Linked DNA regions of Homo sapiens: region 2 is linked to region 1. The links are contacts of gene promoters, found by promoter capture Hi-C in blood cells and fetal thymus (Javierre and others, 2016). All regions are on one chromosome and are shown on one strand. Each heading gives the region's core, a stretch centred on a gene start or on the middle of the fragment in contact. The rest is flanking DNA. Distances are from core to core; before and after follow the strand shown. Region 1 holds the start of KMT2D (lysine methyltransferase 2D). Region 2 overlaps KMT2D (lysine methyltransferase 2D).

Region 1 (3,873 bases), core at 562-3,061:
TAAAGTTGAACAGCAGGGCCAGAACTGCCCCAGCCCCGCCTCCTTCTTGCCCCAGCTACCCCCTTCATCACAACTAGTCAGTTTCCACACACTCTCCCTTTGCCCAGTGAAAGAAGGCCTGGTGAAGGATCTGGGGTTCCTTGAGTTTTCCAGGGACTGCTTTGGGTGCCCAACTCGGTAGGAACAACCTTAAAGTCCAACTGGCATAAGTCTGACCTGGCAGTGACACCCTCCCCCACCATCCCAAGTTGCTCTGTCCCAAGGCCCACAAGGAACCCTGAGGGGAGAAGCAGCAGCCTGGGATTGGTGCTGGCATCAGGGCCCGGGTCCTAGTTTAGTCGAGCTCCCCCAACACAAAAATAAACAGGCAGAGAGGCTATCTGGCCAGGTTCCCAAACTCCCGTGGTTCCCTGAACCCCCAGTCTTTAAAGAGGCACACCCCAAGACACCAGGCCTCAGTTCTGCCCTGGTGACTGGCTCAGGTTCCCTTGACAGACCCTGCCAAAGGAACGCTCCCCAGCTCTGGCACCCCCTTCTCCAACCTAAAGGCCAGCTCCGGCTAAGATAGTCCATCTGGCTGTGCCCCCAGTCCAACCCTTTCTGGGCCCTGGCCGGGCGGACTTCACTCACCTCTTCACAGGGCGATCCAGAAATCCTCATCCGAGAACATGGCCAGAGCCCGGGCCGCTCCCCGACCTCCAACCGCCAGAGCGATCACAGCCGCCCCCCGCACGGGGGGGCTTAGGGGGGCCAAGAACGGTAAATCCAGGTCGGAGTGGCCACCCTCCCCCCACAAAAAAACAGCAAGAAGCCAAAGAGGGGTTCTCTGCCTCAGGTTCCAGCAGTTTAGGTTTCCATGGACAGCCCCAGGGCGGCGAATCCCGAGCGGACACAAAGAGAGCACCGGTGGCTTTGATCTTGGGCGAGCAGGCTCCGCATCCGCGTCGCCGGGCGGCCTCTCAGTCCTAGGGCCCGGCCAGCGCCCCGGCCGCCCGCGCCGGGCTCGGGCGGAACGTCGAGGCTCTCCAGATGGAACGTCGAGGCGCCTCCCCAGCAGCCCGGAAGGAATGCCGCGCCGCCCCGCGCCTGGCCCGGATGGAACGTGAGACCCTCGCAGGAGCGCCGAGCCCCTCTCCCCGCCCCGGCCGGCGCCCGGGGCCGCGCGAGCTACGGCGACGCGGGGCCGGCGGGGCCGCGGGGCTGAACCTGACACACACCCAGCGCCGGGCTTCTCGACCCCGAGCGCTCACCCTCGGCGGCTTCGAGCCCCCCACCTTCTGCTCCCCCCGGGGAAGGGAGGAGGCTAGGTAGGCGAGGAAAAGGAAGGGGCGGGCGGTGCGAGCCCTCTGCCCGCTCCCCTCCGGCCGCTCCAGGCCCTGCGCTCGCCTCCCTTCCCCTCTGGCCTCGGGAGCTGCCCCGCCCCCGGCCTGGCCGGCTCTGGTCGGTGGCACCCCCTCGACCCCCGGCTGACTGTGATCGCAGGCGGCCTAGAGGTGCATGGCCCAACCCCGGCTCCCGGCACCGGGGGGTCAGGAAACTGAGCGGAAAGTGGGGAACGAGGCAGCCATTTGCAACCGGAGAGGAAAGTAGTGCAGCGCGGCGCCGCTCCGCCTCCCCCCCTCCGCCTCCTGTTCGGCCGGTAGGGTGGTTCCTGCGAAGGGGCTATTTCCTGGCCCAAGAGCTGGGCAGCGGTCGTGAAGATTCGTGAAGCCTTCGGCGCTAGATCCGGGGGGGCCTTTTGCCCGGGGCACCCCACTCGAGAGGGGGAGAAAGGAGAAGAGGCGGCCCTATTTTGTGTTGGAGCGGAGCGGCGGAGGGATCCCGCCCTCTCGGAGGAAAGGCTGTGACTCTGCAGTTCTACGCACACGCTGCGGGATCCTTCCGCTCCGGGTTAACCCCGACCGCGCCGGGCCGGCAGCAGGGCAGACACGTGGGAACGAAGCCCCCCTCCTCTCCGCCGCGGCCCTGGAGCCGCCTCATTTACCGCCCAGGCCGCGAAACTAGGACTCTGGCCGCTGTCTAATTCCATACCCTTGCAGTCGTTGGTCCCTGAAGTTCCAACTGCCCCTTGCTTTGGCCAGGGGCAGTCTTTCCCGGGAGGGGGATGGAAGAAGAGCCAGGAGATTGGCCGCTGCTCAGCATCCTGGGAACTGGAGTCCGCAAATGGAGAAAGTGAGGTACGGCGCCTGGCGCTGCAGAGGGTGGACTCTTGCCACGTTTGGGGACCCGAAGAAAACTGGACGAGTCCCTAGTCGTTCCTCCTGACTCCCAGTCCCCCGTGTGAGGAAGGACTGTCGGTGCCCACACAGTCACTATACACACCTCCCCATCGAAACATAAAGGTAGAGCCTCCCTTTTCAGGGTGCCCCCACTCCCACCTCCAGTCCTTCCAGATATTCAGTACCCGTGTCCCTTTTTTAGTAAACTGAGGTAGCCTCGCTGCTACCTGGCCGGAGTACTGTCCTGGACAAGATCGCAAAACATACTCTTTGCAGGCACCACCCCCCCACCATAAGTCTGGATGAGAAAACATTGGAATGCCTCTTCTGCATCAACGCACACATGGGGTGGACAAAAGGAGACAAATTAACTATGTCCAGATACTTTATATATTCTTAGTTATTCCTCGCCTTCATTATGAGTTACATGGAATTATCTCCATATTACAGATGAAGATTAAGGCTACAATAGGTAAAATTGCCCACAGAACTACATCTAGTGAGAAGTTGAGCCATTATTCAAACCAAAGGCCACGTTTTTCCTAGGATTACAAATAATTATACTACGTTTTTTTAAAAGAAGATGTGGAGAAAGAGGCAGGCAGATTCGATCCAATGCCAGCTTTGTGAGGAAAGGGTTTACGATGCTGTCCAAGAGAACTTTTTTTATTTTTTGAGACAGAGTCTCGCACTGTCGTCCGGGTTGGAGTTCAGTGGTGCGATCTCGGCTCACTGCAACCTCCGCCTCCCTGGTTCACGCGATTCTCCTGCCTCAGCCTCCCTAGTAGCCGGGATTACAGGCGCACACCACCAGACCCGGCTACTTTTTTGTATTTTTAGTAGAGACAGGGTTTCACTATGTTGGCCAGCCTGGTCTCGAACTCCTGACCTCGTGATCCGCTCGCCCTGGTCTCCCAAAGTACTGGGATTACAGGCATGCGCCACCGCGCCCGGTCCCAACAGAACTTTTCTACAGTGATGGAAATGGACTAAATCTACACTATCTAATATGGTAGCCATCAACCACATGCAGCTCTCGAGCACTTTGAAATGCAGGTGGTACAAGTAAGGAACTTTTTATTTTAATGAAATTAAATAGCCACATGTGAGGTGATGCTTTTATATTAGACAGTGCAGGAGACCTTAATCCCTACTGGTAAGAGTAATAGGAGGGATCAGGACTAGGTTTGTCCTCTTCCAGCCACACATTGGCATCATGTTTTCTGCACTGACCATTCACACATATTTGAGCAAAAAAAACTCCAGCAGTGATCCCACACTTGTTTTAATTACAATAGAATAAGTTAACCAAGAAACAAGTTGGAAAATGGAAGGCCCCTCCCAGGTTTGCACCCAGAGGCAGGGAGAGGTAGACCCTCACCAGAAAGACCTCCAGTAATAACACAGATAGCCACCTACTATTTTGGTTTTTTTTTTTTTTTTTTTGAGATGGAGTTTCGCTCTTGTCGCCCAGGGTGGAGTGAAATGGCGCGATCTCGGCTCACTGCAACCTCCGCCTCCCAGGTTCAAGCGATTATCCTGCCTCAGCCTCCCTAGTAATTGGGATTACAGGCGCCCACCATCACACCCAGCTAATTTATTTTTAGTAGAGATGGGGTTTCACCACGTTGGCCAGGCTGGTCTCAAACTCCTG
Region 2 (3,873 bases), core at 585-3,084, 35 kb before region 1:
ATCAAATGAGATAATGGATGTGAAAACGCTTTGAAAAAAAAAGTATAAAGTGCTATACAAATGTAAGGTTTTATTATTTTTCTATTATATCTCTAACTATTTATTTTTGACACCAACACTCATGGGGAAGGGAAGGTGACCCTAGCACCCATGGGGTATCTGAGGTTTGGGAGAATCACAGGCCCTCCCCCAGAAGTAAAACAGGAGAAGAAAGAGGTGACCAAGTCCCTTATATATTTCATAAAATTTCACCAGTTTACCCATTACCTCCCCAGGGTGCCCAAGATAATTCTGTCCTATATCCCAAGTGCATCTGAGCAGGTTGGGAGAGGAGGAAAAGGATACCCTACTAATACCTGCATGCCCTCTAATTAGGAAGTCTAAGAGTGATTCCCCATTTTCTCCACGGGAACTCTGATCTGTATCCTAAATCCTCATAATGGGACCAGAGGATCCCTGTCAACACCCACACCCACATCCCTTGGCTCCAGCATCACAAGCTCACCGTTTGTAGTGTGTGAGGATTTTAGGCTCTGATCGGGCACAGCCAGTGGGGTTGATCATGAGTGGCAGCTCCATAAGGGGGTGGCGCCCATAGCGGAATAAATAGTTTTGACAGCTCTCCACCCCGGGCAGCTGTGGGCACAGTTCATACTCACCTTAGCCTGAGTTTTTTTGGGGTTAGGCCAAAGTTCTCAGTGCCCGCCAAGCCCCCCAGCTCCCAGCCCCTTCCTTACTGATTCAGCTATGCGAAGCACGGCATGCACCGTCAGCCCAAAGAGCTCCTCGCCCTTCAGATACTCAGGGAAGAGTCGCAGCATGTCAGCCTCTTTTCTCATGGCAGCCACAGGCTCAATGATGCGATTCCACACGGCTAAGAAGCAGGGAAGAGAGCAGTCCTCAGAGGCAACTTCTGCTCACTGACCTCCAGTCCCTAACCCCAATCCAGAACTGCAGTTTTCTGAGGCCTTCAAGCCTCCCTATCATGAAGTTGTGTTGGTCTTCCAGATCCTCTCTTGGCCTCCTAGTCTCACTCTCTCTTAAGAAGCAGGAGGTTTCCAACCCCAAGGGGTCATCACAGAGCCTTGAGATACAAACCCAGGGCCCAGGAGACCCAGCATAGGCCATGGAAGGTCCCTAGTGAAAGAGCAGGCATGCTTTGGAGTTGGAAAGACTTGGGTTCAGGTTCTAGTACTGGTCATGAGACCTTGAGCCAAATACAGTCACGTGCAGCTTAACAACATTTCATTCAATGAGGAATCATATATACAACAGTGGTCTGGTAAGATTATAATACTGTACTGTATTTTTACTGTATCTTTTCTATGTCTAGATGCACATACTTACCGTATGTTACAACTGCCTACAGTATTCAGTACAGTTACATGCTGTACAGATTTGTAGCCTAGGAGCAATGGGGTATACCGCAGAGCCTAGGTGTGTAGTATGCTATGCCATCTAGGTTTGTGTAGTACACTCTATGAAGTTCACACAATGACAAAATCACCTAACAATGCATTTCTCAGAATGTATCCCTGTCATTTAGCAATGCACGACTGTACTGAAATCTGAGACTCAGTTTCTTTATGAACAAACTGGGCATAATCGTAGTATAATACTTACCTCATAGGGTTGTATGAACAAAATAAACTACACAAATCACTTAGCTTAGTTTGTGGCTCACAGTACACACTCAAAAAAAGGTACCTGCTCTTACTGTTATTTTATCATTAACACTAAAACTAAAATCAAAATAATTCTGATTTCGTCCAGGGAAAAACAACCCCAAGGAACTTGGTTAGGATTAGGTTGGGTGAGGCAGATGATAGTCTCAGAACTGTTTCCTTTTGTTCCACTGGGGATAGCAACAGAACTAGAATATGTGAGATTAGACCAGCAAAATATTTTCAACTACAAGGGAATTTAGGGTGACAAGAGAGGCTCAAACACTTTCACTGGGAGTTTTCAAGAGACCCCCTGCCTGCCTGAGGTGGGGGAAGGAGGATCATTCACATAGAAGCTACAGGTCCTCTTATAGACATTGTAACAGTGACCCTGGGAGAAACTTTTCCCATTCCATATTATCCATTTCAAGGGCCCACTGCTCACCCTGGGGAGAGGCGTCAGTGAAGACCAGGTCCTCCAGGCCCTGCTCGATGACTTTGATTACAAACTCCGGCCGCCCGTTGTTCTCACCAATAGAACAGCGATAGCAGCAGCGACGATTGTTGGTGCGGAGGCTCCAATAGATGCGCGTGGCCTCGTAGCCCACGGGATAGAGGGCAGTGGCACTATGAAAGTCAGCCATCTGGTGAGGCAGCAGCTGTCCGATGGCGTGGAACACAAGGCCCCCCACACGGAACATGTGCAGCCGTTCTCCCCGCTGAATGATGCTAGCGATTTGCTTCACCTCGTCCCGCTCAATGTAGACCCGCCGGAAGACAGCAAAAGAGCTCAGCTCTTGCTCACAGGGCCCCTTGATCTTATGCATTGGACACAGCATGGTCTTGTCCTTGAAGAACATGCACTTGGCACGGATGGCACAAGCAAAATGGTAGACATTGGGGCAACGCATGCGATTGCAGCTGCTGGTGGCACCAGTTCGCTGGCACAGGGAGCACTTGGTTAGCAGTCCTCGGTGCAGGGCAACCTCCACATTCATCAGTGCCCCGCCCTGGGTCTCATACACCTCCGTGGACCAAAGGGCACAGTTGAGGTGCACCCACAGGTCCAGGTCCAGGTTCAGCAGACGGGCAGGCCCATCAGTGGCCCCGTCACCCTCCTCATGACAGAAACAGCAGCGACGCATGTCTCGCGGTACCTTGTCAGGTCGCAAGGCTGTGCCAAGCTGCTCCATAAACTCTGCCACTTCCCGCTCATCCTCCTGCCGCCCACTGCCCTTCTGGATGGTCAGCAGCAGCCGAAGCCGCTTCCAGCGCACTCCTTTCCATTTCTTGAGGCGAGGAGGACGGGAATCTTCACCTTCTTCAGGGGGCCGGGCACGGGGCTTGGGTCGGGCTGATTCAGGGGATGAGGCCAGTGGCAGAGGTGAGGGGACGGGTGGCTCAGCCAAGGGTTCGGTGGGAAGTTCAACCAAGGGCTCAGTAGGGGGACTGGCAGGAGAAGGTGCCAAGGGGGAAGGGGGCGGGGAGGGTTCTTCAGGAGGTGGGGCCGAGAGCTGTCGCACATCCAGATTGGAGACATTGTAGGTATAGCTGTGCTGAGTGGGTGGCTCTGGGGCGGGGCTCTCCTGTAGGAGGGTGCCCTGTATCATTAGTGCCAGCTCCTCATCTAACTAGCTCCCTCCTTCCCCTCACCCATATGCCACCCTCCCAAAAGGCCTCCACATTCTTTGCCCTAGACAGCCTCTTTTTTCTTTTCTTTTCTTTTTTTTTTGAGACACAGTCTTGCTCTGTTGCCCAGGCTGGATCCAGTGGCACAATCTTGGCTCACTGCAACCTCTGCCTCCTGGGTTCAAGGGATTCTCATGCCTCAGCCTTTCGAGTAGCTGGGATTACAGGCACGCACCATCACGCCTGGCTACTGTTTTGTTTTTGTTTTTAGTAGAGACGGGGTTTCGCCATGTTGGCCAGGCTGGTCTCAAACTCCTGGCCTAAAGTGATTCACTCGCCTTGCCTCCCAAAGCACTGGGATTACAGATGTGAGCCACCGCGCCTGGCCGGCAGCCCCTTTTTTCTAACACCCACCCCTTTTTCTCCCCCAGACCTACCTGTTTCAGGAGGCTCAAGATGTCTAGTTGGCTCTTCAGGGTATAGCCAGGCAACACTGCATCAAACTGCTTCAGCCAATCAGGGCCAGTGTCTGGGCTCTTGCCTTCCAGACCCTTTTCCTTCCCACCTGCAGAAAGGAGTG

The links. Contacts are between HindIII fragments. The CHiCAGO score rates a contact against its expected background, and 5 or more counts as called.
Region 2: a contact is called between a fragment that was not itself captured here and the fragment with the promoter of KMT2D in region 1, in 3 of 17 cell types (endothelial precursors, M1 macrophages and M0 macrophages). The highest score is 6.1, in endothelial precursors.

The regions. Positions count from the first base shown.
Region 1 is chr12:49,058,983-49,062,855 of GRCh38, forward strand. It overlaps KMT2D (lysine methyltransferase 2D), which reads right to left and starts at 1,812. Exons shown (of 55, transcript NM_003482.4): 1 at 631-1,812. RefSeq lists silencers at 504-798, 960-1,579 and an enhancer at 1,630-1,879. The HindIII fragment of the contact is 17,382 bases long and covers 1-3,873 here.
Region 2 is chr12:49,024,073-49,027,945 of GRCh38, forward strand. KMT2D (lysine methyltransferase 2D) reads right to left here. Exons shown (of 55, transcript NM_003482.4): 48 at 3,731-3,858; 49 at 2,110-3,250; 50 at 738-874; 51 at 506-636. Among named protein-coding and RNA genes, the nearest start is that of PRKAG1, 7.2 kb to the left of the region's middle. The HindIII fragment of the contact is 8,267 bases long and covers 1-3,873 here.